Linked DNA regions of Homo sapiens: regions 2, 3 and 4 are each linked to region 1. Evidence: promoter capture Hi-C in human tissues and cell types (Jung and others, 2019). All regions are on one chromosome and are shown on one strand. The core of a region is centred on a gene start or on the middle of the fragment in contact, and the rest is flanking DNA. Distances in the headings are between cores, read along the strand shown.

Region 1 (3,195 bases), core at 382-2,881:
GCCAAGCTCTCAGCCCTGCCCAGGCCCGGGACCTCTGCAAAGCAGTGCCAAATCCATGCCAGGCAGTGGTTTGGCTGCGGGTGCCTGGGAATCAGCGCTGAGTCCCAGGACTAGTCTCCGAGGCGCAGGGAGGTCTTGGGGTGGGCGACCTAGGGAGACACGCGCCTAGGGAGTGACCGTAAGATCCCGGTCGTCCTTCCCTGAGGAGGACGGAGACATGGGCAATTCGTCGTCATCCTCGGAGCACTTGGCTGAGGAGAGCGATGCGCACTTGCAGCCTTGCGGTGCGCTCCCGCCACCACCGGCACCCCCGCCGCCGCCGCCACGATGGTTGCTGCCCTTGCCCTCCTTCTTGTGCTTCACTCGGCGGTTCTGAAACCAGATCTTCACCTGCTTCTCGGACAGATTCAGGTAGGTCGCGATCTCGATGCGACGTAGGCGGGACAGGTACATATTAGAAGCGAACTCGCGCTCCAGCTCTAGCAGCTGCGTGCTGGTGAAAGCCGTGCGCATCCTCTTGCTGCTGGGCAGCTGGTTAGAGCTGCTGTCTGGAGGTGGCAGAGCAGAGAAGGAAGCGATCAGACCTCTGTGCTGTGGACCCAATCCCTTGGTAGGCGGTCGCCAGAATCCTACGACTTTGACCTCTTACCCATCTCTTCGCCCCAACACAATCCACAGCAGAGCTACAGTGAGCGCTCCTTGTCCAGCTCCGAGATCCTGATTCTCCCGGAGTCATGCAGCCCTGGAACCCCTTCCCCTTCATGGAGAGCCTTGGATCCCAGCCCTCACTTACCCCGGCCCACACTCCAGGACCTGGACGTCTGCCCTCATCCGCCTCCTGGCGTTGTGTCCCGGCCCTCTATCCTCACTCCACCCCAAGCGCCCCCCTTAGTCCCCGACATGACCCTCACCGCCCCCAGAAAGCCCAGGGTCCCTCTTCCTCCATCTCTGGCTCTCCATCCTGCTTCGGATCACCTCTGCCCGGTCCCTCTGCGCGGCGGCCCCGCTTACCCACAGAGATGCAGTGGAACTGCCTGGGGTCAGGCAGCGGGTAGGAGGTCTGGTAGAGCGCGGCGGCAGCAGCAGCGGCGGCCGGGCCGTGAGCGACCCCGGGCGACACAGCAGAGTGCTGGCGGCCCAGGGGCGCGTGGCAGTACTGCGAGCCGAAGGGTGGGAAGGAAGCCTTGAGTAGAGGCAGCGCGGGCGGCCCGGGGGGCCCATGCAGCTGCGAGGCGGTGACGCAGAGCGGGCACACGCACAGCAGCCCAGCCTTGCGCGCGTGGCAGGCGCCAGGCGAGAGACCGTGCAGCGCGTGCGGCGGGGGCACAGCGTAGGGGAAGAGCGGCGGCGGGCTGCCCTCGGGCGCCTTCTTCTCGCCCGCCTCGCGCAGCACTAGCGAGTCCACCAGGAAGGAGCGCGGCATGGCCCCGGCGCGCGGTCGCCCCGCAGCCAGCCCGCCCTCTGCGCCCACCGCACCTTTCGGCTCTCCACGCGCTTTCCCTGGCCGCGGTATCCCGCAGCTGCCTCTGCCCAGGAGGCTGAACGCGCGGCTGAGACCTAGGCTGAAACAGTAGCCTCTGCTGCCGTGGGCACCGCCCAAAGAGCGCGGGGTGCTGGCCAGCGCTAGTGGTGCTGAAAGGCGCCGGCGGCGCGGCTTAAATAGGACTATTGCCATGTGATGGACTACGCCAGGAGCGGCCGGGGCCTCTCAATAGGGTTTTTGTGCCTTTTCTCTTGGCATTCACTCTGCACGCTTCCTCATTATTTCACTTGTTAACTAAATGAACTGCATAATGTACTCTATTCTTGTCAACCCCACCCACGCCGTAACAGGCGCCCTCGCCCCCTCCTCTCCCTTTTGCGGGTTTATTTTCTCATTCTCCCGCGATTTAATATTCTTTCCTTTCTCTTTATTTCTTACTCCCCTTTGGCTTTGCATTGGCCATCAGCCCGTTCACCTTACTGATTTTGCACCCCCGCGGCCTCTCTTCTACAGATCCCCATGGGCGCACACCCTCATATCCTCTGTCCACTTGGTCCTGGTCCCCTTCTTTCTATTATCGCCCTTACACCCCAAAAGTATGCTGTCTCCAGTCAGCCCTGTCAGCTCAGTGCCGTGCACCCCCGAACCTCCCTCCAGCCGGTCTCAGATTTTCCACCTGTGGAATCGCTTCTCTCTCTGCGTCGGAAGAAGGAGGACCGGGTTCCCGCGTGAAGGAGGCGTCTGTGGGGAGGGAGGAGAAGGGCTCATTATTCCTTATCCAGCCCTAGACCCATCGCTGTCCCTCGGTTTTCTCTAAGTTTCTCAAATAGTCTTAATTTTGGTGCTGCCTACGACGCCCAGTCTTTGTTCGGTAGATGCTGGCCAACCAGCCCTTTCCTTCAAATGACAGGGCCGTGGATGTAAAAGAGGAAAAACAGTCTCTGAGCGTTACGAACAGAGACAGGGAATGGGGAATGAAAGCCGAGATGGCGCAGATCTAGATCTCGCACCCCAGCACATGTGGCGAGTGCGGACTGTCTGCCCGCGCATCTTGCCCACACCCTGTCTACTGGAGCACACTTCCAGCAGTGCGCTGGGAAACCGCTGCCATCTCTTAGTTTGGAACGGCGCGAAGGGCGGTTGTATTCCTGGCATCGGCTGCCTTTGCCCACCCTGACCCGCCTCCGCTCTCCCCAAGACCCGGCTTCTTCTTCCTGCCGCGTCACTCTTCTTTCTGGTCACACAATGGTTAAACAACTTCAAACGCTCAGAGCTGTGTACACAGCTCCAGCTTTTTAAATCGTTCTCGGGCTCAAAGCTGTTTCGCCCAGGAGCTTTTTCCATACAATGGGAAATCAGCATAAACATTTCTAATTTACAGCCCGGGACTTTTCACAGGAGACGTTTACTTTCGATTTTATTGGAACCAAATCGCTGCAGTCACCTGCTCTGAGCCCTGAATGGAATTGTGAGAAATGGAGGGGGAAGCTTAGGGGTCTGGGGAAGCAGTGCGCAGGAATAAGATTGCCCAAACCCGAAGCATCTGCATGGGCTTTTATCCTTGGCAACATCTTTGCAATAACAACAGCAACAGATTATAACTGATTAAAAAGCAAAGATAATTTGTTTTGCGAGATAATAACTGCTTCTGTAAAAGGGAATAGGACAATGGGAGAAGTAACCTGCATGGAGGGCATGGCATCTAGCAGGAG
Region 2 (3,195 bases), core at 188-2,687, 62 kb after region 1:
TGCTATATTATTATATTGTAATAGTAGCTAGCAACAATTAGAAATGAACTTTCCTGGCAGAGAGATATTTATTCATGACTTTCAAGAACTCTGTCCCTGGAGTTTTTAGAGTTCTACACATATATTTGCTCGATGGGCTTTCTGCATCTTCTCAGTTCAATATAGAGTCACAAAGTGTTCACTGGATTCTGCCTTTCTCGGGCACTTCATATCTACTGGGTTCAGGCTCCTCAACCACATCTCGCTAGGCCTGGCATCTCCCCGACTGGCTGATGGTGTTGATAGAATTATTTTTAAAAAGTCATCAGAACTGTGGTATCTAGTAAGTGTTAAGTGGTATCAATAGTTTGATTTTTGCTCCTTCTGCATTGAAGTGGATGGATGGTTTTCCTATTCTTTTTTTTAGGCAGAGTCTCACTCTGTTGCCCAGGCTAGAGTGCAATGGCACGATCTCGGCTCACTGCAACCTCTGCCTCCCGGGTTCAAGCAATTCTCCTGCCTCAGCCTCCCAAGTAGCTGGGATTACAGGTGCCCACTACCATGCCCAGCTAATTTTTGTATTTTTTTAGTAGAGACAGAGTTTCACCATGTTTCCCAGGCTGGTCTCGCACTCCTGGCCTCAAGAGATCCACCTGCCTCGGCCTCTCAAAGTGCTGGCAGTTTTCCATTTCTTTTTAACTGGACAAAATGGAAATGGGAGAATGCTTAAGAGTAAAAGTGAGAGAGAGGAACAGCAGGCTGAAGTTGTCTTCTGGTTGAAGGGCACTTTTTTGGGTTTTTATTGATAATTTCTCCTCCTTACTTGCCCCCACACTTCACACACTTTAAATGAGAACTGTTTGTGACTACTTTTGCCATAAAAACACTCATGAGAAAAAGACAGGGCTTTGAAATGCCGCCATTCCTCAATGTGTCCAGAAGAAAACTTAAGCTCACCTCAAGTCCAAAGGTGCATACTGACTGAAAAAACGACAATTCACGATCAGGAAGTTCTGAGCAAGGACAGAGAGCCCAGCTTAGGGCAACAGGACCAGCCTCAGCTGTAGCTTTGTCAAGCTGCTGAAGAAGGTGAGCAAAACCACTTCCTTGGGAAGAAAATCAAATTCAAGATAACAGACTTCCTTCAACTTTAGCGTTGTTTCATCCTTGCATAAAATTAAGAACAAACCCAAACTTTTCTCCAAAAATACGATGTAAGCAAAAATGCTGTGGGGCAGCAAGCCAGACTTCAAACAGCCCTAAAACGTCCTTTGCCTACACACCAGATAGTTCAAGGAAGCCGAAAAGTGCCCACGGGAAGATTTTGTATGGGAACTTTAACTTCCCATTCCGTTTGACTTTTGGTCTTTAAAATACAGGTCAAATCAATGAATTTAATGGAGGCCGGTTAACACAATGGCTTTGCCTTGCATTTTGACCCACATAAAGGGGAGGCAGTCCGGGGCACAAAGCTTCAGCAGAACTTTAAGTGGTTAGTACACAAACGTGACAGAACGTTTAGAATCTCAGGGACTTGCGAGACCTATTGACAAGCAGTTAAAAGTATTTGAAATAGCTGCATGAATGAACTTTGATAAGGTAGCACTATTGTCTTCCATTGTCTCTTTCTCTTCATACGAAAACTCCCCCAAAAGAACAAGAGTCAATGAATGTGAAATGTAGTGTCAGTTTTACTGGACTCTGGACGCCTTTGAGCACTGCGACTTTTTGTGGCGAGTTCATGCTACTTAAAAGTATTCTTCCCTCTGAGTTTCAACTCTTGCAAATGGTGACTTCTTAGTTCACTGCCCACCCAAGTCTTTTCCAACTGCTTTCACACCGTGAATAGCTCTTTAAGTTAAAAGCAGTGAAGATTAATTTCAGTATTTTTGCTTCTTCTTGACACTTGGGTTTTTCAAGACAGATGCCTGGTCACTCGGCCCTAAGCTCAGTGGAGGGGGTGAGGGGTGGAACAGAGCGGGAAGGAGGCCTGTCCTTCTGCAACCTAAAGATGCCAAGAGCATGGGCAGGCAGCTCCATTCCAGAAATCTGCTGAATCACCTTCCGACTTGGGAGAGAGGAGGAAACAAACAAAATCTGACTAAGTAACACATTTTAAAGAAATGTGGGGGCAAGAGAATAGGGTGGGGGAAGGGGTGTCAGCCCCAAATAACTCCTTATGAATTGCTGCGAGCCAGTGTCTCCATTCCAGGAAAGGCCTGTCTCCAAGGGTCATCTCTACCTGTCTTTACATATATTTTTTTCATCAGCAAACATCCATTTTTCCAAGCTGTGTCTAAAATATGAGTTCCCGGGGAGGCTCCTCCATTGTTTGAAAACATCCTCTCCCGTCCGTAAGTTGCGAGGAAACAGTGGTGGGACACAGAAAGTCCACAAAGGCCCTGTCTAAAGAGCCATGTGTTGGTTTCACAGGGTTTCATAGTTCTAAGATTTGCTAAATATGCTTTGGGGGGTTTTCTCAGTAAATCTCTATAGATAGATTTTATTGTATTTTACCCTTTTGTCTGTTTTTTGTGTGTGTGTCTGAAATTTCTCCCTTATTCATTGACCAGTAACTTTCTGTCACCCATCTTTGACTTTTCTCCTTACATCTGCATTTAAGCTGTCATTTACTTCTGCCATTCCCTCCTCTCAATATCTGACAGCCAAAGCCTCCATGCGCTTTTATCCCTTTGTGTTTGCATTATGACATAACCTGTGCAAAGTGGCCCAGCTCCCCAATTCTTGTATGTAAAATTTGCAACATTTTTTGAGACGGGTCAGTGCCCATTTTTGGGATCCTTTTCTTTATCTGAGTACCGTGTTAAAACTTTTTGCAGATGTGGCCTATTCAGGAGCAGGCTGCGGCTGCATGCAGAGATGGGGAAAAGAAGAAAAGGCCTTCCTATTTTGTGATTGCCATAGTAACTCAAACATTGCCAGTGTGTTCGCTGGTCCGGTCAGCCACAGCCCGGGAGCTTGATTTCCTGTGCAATCAAGCCCTCTACTGGAGATCATGGCTTGTGTGACACGGGGCTACACAGAGGACAGTGTGCTTGTTAGGCCTGAAATTAAGCATTTCACTTTAAAATAATACCCATTTGTATCCATTTTGTTCAACATAACAACAGCTGCTGTCCCTGGAATGACAGACTTGCCTTTTAAACCAAAGCTTCATATGACATTTATGAATGAGGCCAGTTCCATTCATTTGCG
Region 3 (3,195 bases), core at 298-2,797, 44 kb after region 1:
AATGCAGGTTAGTATTGGGGAGGGGCCCAAGATTCTGCTTTTCTAACAAGCTCCTAGATAATGTTGGTTGATGCTGTTGATCTGTGGGCCACACTTGGAAAAGCAAGGTAGACCATGGACTGATGGATGCTTTATCCAGTAATGATATCCTCCACTTGTTTAATACCCAAGACAGTTGCAAAGTGTTTCATACGGTGCCTGGCATACTGTAGGGTGTCAGTATGCCAGGCAGCCTGTCACAATTTTGGCTTTATTATTTAATACACTATTGCTTCATATGATCAAAACTGGGGCAAAGCTGATTTTCCTCTTCAAGGACATGGTAAGAGATGGCTCTCACTGATCTGCTATGGGGAGAGTGACTGCTTCACAGCCAGCCTGCACTGCCAGGTGATCATCTGCCCCAGGTTTTCATAGTAAGGGGAGGGCAGGATGTAGCTGACTTGTGGCCTGGCCAGCTGGGTTCTTGGGACAACTCGGCTTGCAGGGAAGGTCAGAAAAGCCAAGGCCCAGCTTTGAGGGTAACTCCGAAGCCTCAGCTCAGACCATGTCTTCAGTGGGGTGCAGCAACACTCCATGGAAATGGAGAAAGGCATTGAAGGGCATTTATTCTTTCTTCTACTCATTTCACCTTCCGCTTTCTGGCTGCACAGACATAATTGTCAGGCAGCACAAACAGCCTGTGGCAAGCAACATCAAATAATTATAGTCAGAGGGTTGCTGAGTGTCCTGTGTGTAGCTCCCATGGTCTGTGGTTTGATTTATGTGAGGGGCATGATCTTTGGATTGGAAATGGGAAATGTGTGGCACGTGGTGTGCTGTGGAGACAGTACAGCATATTGGGAAGAGCATGGGCTCTGGGGTCAGTTAGACCTTCTTCTAACCCCAGTTCTGTGGTCTCAAGCAACACAGTTGTTCTCCAAGCTTCAGTTTCCTGGTCACTGAAATGGGGCTGTCTATATAAGACTAGCTGGGTTGTTATTGAGAGGTGACAGCGTGCTGGCAGTCCTCACAGCCCTCGCTCGCTCTCGGCGCCTCCTCTGCGTGGGCTCCCACTTTGGCGGCACTTGAGGAGCCCTCCAGCCCACCGCTGCGCTGTGGGAGCCCCTTTCTGGGCTGGCCAAGGCCGGAGCCCACTCCCTCAGCTTGCAGGGAGGTGTGGAGGGAGAGGCGCCAGCGGGAACCAGGGCTGTGTGCGGCGCTTGCGGGCCAGCTGGAGTTCCGGGTGGGCATGGGCTTGGCGGGCCCCGCACTCAGAGCAGCCGGCCAGCCCTGCTGGCCCCGGGCAATGAGGGACTTAGCACCCGGGCCAGCAGCTGTGGAGGGGGTACTGGGTCCCCCAGCAGTGCCAGCCCACGGGCGCTGCACTCGATTTCTCACCGGGCCTTAGCTGCCTTCCCGCGGGGCAGGGCTCTGGACCTGCAGCCCGCCATGCCTGAGCCTCCCACCCGCTCCATGGGCTCTTGTGCGGCCCGAGCCTCCCCGACGAGCGCCACCCCCTGCTCCACGGTGCCCAGTCCCATCGACCACCCAAGGGCTGAGGATTGCGGGTGCACAGCCCTGGGACTGGCAGGCAGCTCCACCTGCAGCCCCGGCGCGGGATCCAATGGGTGAAGCCAGCCGGGCTCCTGAGTCTGGTGGGGACGTGGAGAGTCTTTATGTCTAGCTCAGGGATTGTAAATACACCAATCAGCACTCTGTATCTAACTTAAGGTTTGTAAACACACCAATCAGCACCCTGTGTCTAGCTCAGGGTTTGTGAGTGCACCAATCGACACTCTGTATCTAGCTGCTCTGGTGGGGCCTTGGAGAACCTTTATGTCTAGCTCAGGGATTGTAAATACACCAATCAGCACTCTGTATCTAGCTCAAAGTTTGTAAACACACCAATCAGCACCCTGTGTTTAGCTCAAGGTTTGTGAGTGCACCAATGGACACTCTGTATCTAGCTGCTCTGGTGGGGCCTTGGAGAACCTTTATGTCTAGCTCAGGGATTGTAAACACACCAGTCAGCATCCTGTGTCTAGCTCAGGGTTTGTGAGTGCACCAATCGACGCTCTGTATTTAGCTGCTCTGGTGGGGCCTTGGAGAACCTTTGTGTGGATACTCTGTATCTAACTAATCTGATGGGGACGTGGAGAACCTTTGTGTCTAGCTCAGGGATTGTAAACGCACCAATCAGCACCCTGTCAAAACAGACCACTAGGCTCTACCAGTCAGCAGGATGTGGGTGGGGCCAGATAAGAGAATAAAAGCAGGCTGCCTGAACCAGCAGTGGCAACACACTCGGGTCTCCTTCCATACTGTGGAAGCTTTGTTCTTTCGCTCTCTGCAATAAATCTTGCTATTGCTCACTCTTTGGGTCCACACTGCTTTTATGAGCTGTAACACTCACCGCGAAGGTCTGCATCTTCACTCCTCAAGCACAGGGAGACCATGAGCCCGCCGGGAGGAAGGAACAACTCCAGACGCGCTGCCTTAAGAGCTGTAACACTCATGGCGAAGGTCTTTAGCTTCACTCCTGAGCCAGCGAGACCACGAACTCACCAAAGGAAGAAACTCCAAACACATCTGAACATCAGAAGGAAACAAACTCCAGATGCGCCACCTTAAGAGCTGTAACACTCACCGCGAGGGTCCGCAGCTTCATTCTTGAAGTCAGTGAGACCAAGAACCCACCAATTTTGGACACATTATGACAAATGAGGGAGATGGCTCATTGTAAGATGGCACCATTATAACATGGTACCTTTAATGTTATAGGTACTGGCTAGTTTCTTTCTGGAAGGCGGCATCCACTCAGACAAACAGCCAGGCAAGCTCACTTGGATTACCTACCCCTATCATAATTTTTGCAATCACACATCAGACACAGGGTTAACCCTTAGACCAAGAGTCCTGCATTGCAGGCCATGAGAAGATGGCCTGGATACCTTGGGCTAGCCCTCTTCTCTTACCAAGATCACACCCTGTGCTCTTTTTTGCTCCTGTAGAGTTATAAGCCTTCTGGGATGTGCTGTTCATTTGTAGCTAAGCACGCTGAGCAAGCTGACGATCCTCCACACTGTGCCTATGGATGGTCGGTCACTCTCAGCCTTTGATGCGCCCACCCCTTCCTGTTGGCCAACCAAAGAGAAAACAAAATCTTTTTATCAACAGCCAGGAAAATCTGAGCCAAACCACAAAGTGGCCAAC
Region 4 (3,195 bases), core at 318-2,817, 37 kb before region 1:
TAGAGCAAAAATATTAACAATGATCGCCTTGATGTGGGAGGATTTCTGGCAATTAAAATAATGGCATCTTCTCAATTTTCCTTACAATGTTTATATAATAGAGAATAGAATGAAAGCTTAACAACACACACCACCAACCTTTCACTAAAAGTTTCCCTTGTGCCCCAGACTGGAAATCAGCCCCACTGCATTCAAAGGTGCTGTGACTTTGGACAAGTTCCTTCTCCTCTTTGGGCCTCCTTTTTAATCTAATAATAAAAAGGCGGTTTAATTTCAAAAGTTTCTTCCAGCTCTAACGCTCCTTGATTGAATGACTCCCAATCCCGGCGGAGGTTCTTTAAAAAACGGCCTACTGGGATTTACATGTGGGTAAATGGTCTCTTCAGCCCGTTTTCTTTGATCTAAGTTAGTGCATTGCACCAGTGTTGTGTCAAATCATCCTGGGAAAAAGTAGCTTTTCCCAGAAAGACAAATTTTAACCAAAGTAGCTTTTCCCAGAAAGACAAAATTTAACCTAAGACATTAAAAAAACCAACCAAACAAACAAAAAGCACTACACACTGAACGGACTCCACAAGCCAAGCAGAAAAACAAAAAACAACGAACCACATCCCCCTTCCCACCCTTACCCCAGACTCTTAGCTTCTTTCTGAATATCGCATGTCACCTGTACACCTGAATAGTCATAGTAGCTGGCATTTATTTTTACGGATGTCCATAGAGTCACTTATAGCATTTTCTCCCACAGAAGCACAGCGAAATCACAGCCGAGCAGAGGAGGGCAAGGGAGAGGGCCGCCCCAGTCTGAGAGCTGCAGGGTCTGGCTGGAACTGCTCCCGGCCAGCGGACTTCACCCGGGCGCGGGGGCCGCACCTGCCGGGCGCGGCCTGCTCTATGGCGCCCTCTGCTGTTAGTCCGCCCCAGGCTCCGCGCCGGCCTCTCCTGGGTCCGTGGGGCCTGCGGGCTGCGGGGATCACCGAGACCCACATTCCCGTGGCCAGCAGCCTTTCGCTCTGCTCAGAGGAGAGGCAGAAGGGCATATTGCTGTTTCCCAGTCGCTTTTTACACCTGCCTTCTTCGGATAAACCCAAAAATCTTCCTTCAGAGAAGACGGCCCGTATTTCCCGTTATTTGGGGGTGGAGGTGGGGCTAAGGGCGTCATAGGGAGAGCCTTACTTTCAACATTCTGCATTATGAAACCAAGGGAGACTTTTTTTCCCAACAAGTGTGAACATTTTTTTTCAAGAGAATTAAATCGTTTATTGATTACACATGATAATGGATGACACACAAGCTTCATTCCCATCTCTAATTTTATCTGGTACCGTTATTCAATTTAGATATATTGCATAGGATGTGCCAACAATCACTTTTATCACCAATAATTCCACGATTTTGCTTGAGTAATCCCTTTTAATGGTGAACTTCAGGTCACAACAGTAACTATCAGTTCAACTACACCAAGGTTTCTGAAGACAATGGCTTCTCCGCCCAAGCAGGTTGCATATAAATTCCAAATAGAACCTGGCATCACCCTGAAGGAATTCTAACTTCACACTGTTGGGAAAATTTACCGAGATGGCTTCAGAGTAGACTAACTTTACACAGCACATTTTTTAAAAAAGACATTTATTCAGCGTCACGATCAGACTATTACATTTAGCAATCAACAGCATGGGTGAAAAAAAAATCTACATTAAAACCCTTTGTTGGAATGCTTTACACTTTCCACAGAACAGAAACTAAAATAACCTCTTATACAATTAGTCACAAATACAGTCCTCAAGTTTTTTGCCCATACACGAGTATTTGTCTAAAACATGACTTGTTTGTAGCAGCTAGGCCTTGCCACCACTGTGCTTGGCTGAGTTCACAAACCTCTTGTAACCTGTAGCTTCCTTGTCACTTCTCTGGCTCTCCCTTCCTGCTAAGCTTTGTTTACTAATTAAAATCTTCTGCCAAAGCCATAGCTGCTGCTGCTACTGGATCCACCATAGCCACCTTGGTTTCGTGGTTTGGCAAAGTATTGGCCTCCACCACCACAGGGGCCAGAGCTTCTGCCTCCAAAATTTCCTCCCTTCATGGGTCCAAAATTTGAAGACTGATTATTGTAATTGCCAAAATCATTGTAGCTTCCACTACCTCCAAAATTGCTTCCACTAAAAAATATGGAACGCTTCACGAATTTGCATGTCATCCTTGCACAGGGGCCATGCTAATCTTCTCTGTATTGTTTCAGTTTTAGTATATGTGCTGCCAAAGCTAGCACAAGTGTGAACATTGACTATGCTTCTCACATATCTTTACAGCCCCACTCTAAGGGGACTCTGTCTTGGAGAACCAACTGTTCTAGAATTTTCTAACCTGCCTCCTGCAGCCCCTCTCCCCATTTCTTCTCCTAGGGAGTCTTCCAGATGGTGCAGTTCACCTAGGAACTGCATGTCTGCTTGCTGAGGGTGTGGCAGGAGTCAAGTCACTAAACCTTTATGAGTGAATACTGTCAACCTTATACAGCCCATTCATTTCTTCACCAATTCCATCCATGTCAACTCAACAACTACTCCAGCTGACCCTGGAGCTTGGTACTGGGGATACATCTCATACAAAAGGATGCTTTCCTTCCTGTCCCAAAATGTATCAGCCCCCGAGGGATCATACACAATAGATACACAAATGGTTGCATGTAAATGCAAAGAACATGTTGCAATGAGAAAGAATAATATAGGTTGTGAGCTCACAGGAGGAACATTAAAGCTGAGCCTGCAGGATAAATAAGAATAAACCAGTGAAAAACGCTGAACCATGACTCTGAGATGGGAAGGTGGCATAAATTCCAGGAGAGGCATGTGGCTGGATCATCAGGAATGGGGAGAGCAGAAACCCCAAAGAAGGTTGGAGAATTAGGCAGAGGGCGGATTAGGTGAACCCTGGAGGGCCAAGCTAATAATTTTGAGTCAAATTACAGAGTGCAGTGGAGAGCCCCTGAATTTATTTTTAGTAATTGACATGATCTGAGGTGGGGTTTGCAAGGATCCTTCTGGCTGGTGTGACAGGAGGGAGGCAGGGTGAGGGTAGGAGCCTTGGAGCTGAAGATAGATGGGAAATTGGTTCCTGGTGGTAGCAGTCCAAGTGGCAGGAAGTCGCCAGCCGCAGAGCATGCTTTGAAGGCAGAGTGGAGGACAGGCTGGCATGTTG

The links. Contacts are between HindIII fragments. The study calls those that stand out against the background at their distance.
Region 2: a contact is called between a fragment that was not itself captured here and the fragment with the promoter of GSX1 in region 1, in 5 of the 25 tissues and cell types used here (H1 embryonic stem cells, heart left ventricle, liver and 2 more).
Region 3: a contact is called between a fragment that was not itself captured here and the fragment with the promoter of GSX1 in region 1, in 2 of the 25 tissues and cell types used here (pancreas and small bowel).
Region 4: a contact is called between a fragment that was not itself captured here and the fragment with the promoter of GSX1 in region 1, in 4 of the 25 tissues and cell types used here (H1 embryonic stem cells, hippocampus, mesendoderm cells and 1 more).

What each region holds. Positions count from the first base shown.
Region 1 is chr13:27,790,919-27,794,113 of GRCh38, reverse strand. It overlaps GSX1 (GS homeobox 1), which reads right to left and starts at 1,631. Exons shown (of 2, transcript NM_145657.3): 1 at 1,012-1,631; 2 at 1-548. The coding sequence starts at 1,423. The coding sequence ends at 166. RefSeq lists an enhancer at 901-1,704. The HindIII fragment of the contact is 15,189 bases long and covers 1-3,195 here.
Region 2 is chr13:27,728,258-27,731,452 of GRCh38, reverse strand. No RefSeq gene overlaps it. Among named protein-coding and RNA genes, the nearest start is that of GSX1, 63 kb to the left of the region's middle. RefSeq lists an enhancer at 1,678-2,877. The HindIII fragment of the contact is 6,909 bases long and covers 1-3,195 here.
Region 3 is chr13:27,746,667-27,749,861 of GRCh38, reverse strand. No RefSeq gene overlaps it. Among named protein-coding and RNA genes, the nearest start is that of GSX1, 44 kb to the left of the region's middle. The HindIII fragment of the contact is 3,578 bases long and covers 1-3,195 here.
Region 4 is chr13:27,827,837-27,831,031 of GRCh38, reverse strand. All of the region lies in intron 3 of PLUT (PDX1 associated lncRNA, upregulator of transcription), which reads left to right. It overlaps LOC124903139 (a long non-coding RNA gene), which reads right to left and starts at 822. Exons shown (of 2, transcript XR_007063734.1): 1 at 630-822. It also overlaps the pseudogene RNU6-73P. The HindIII fragment of the contact is 3,272 bases long and covers 1-3,195 here.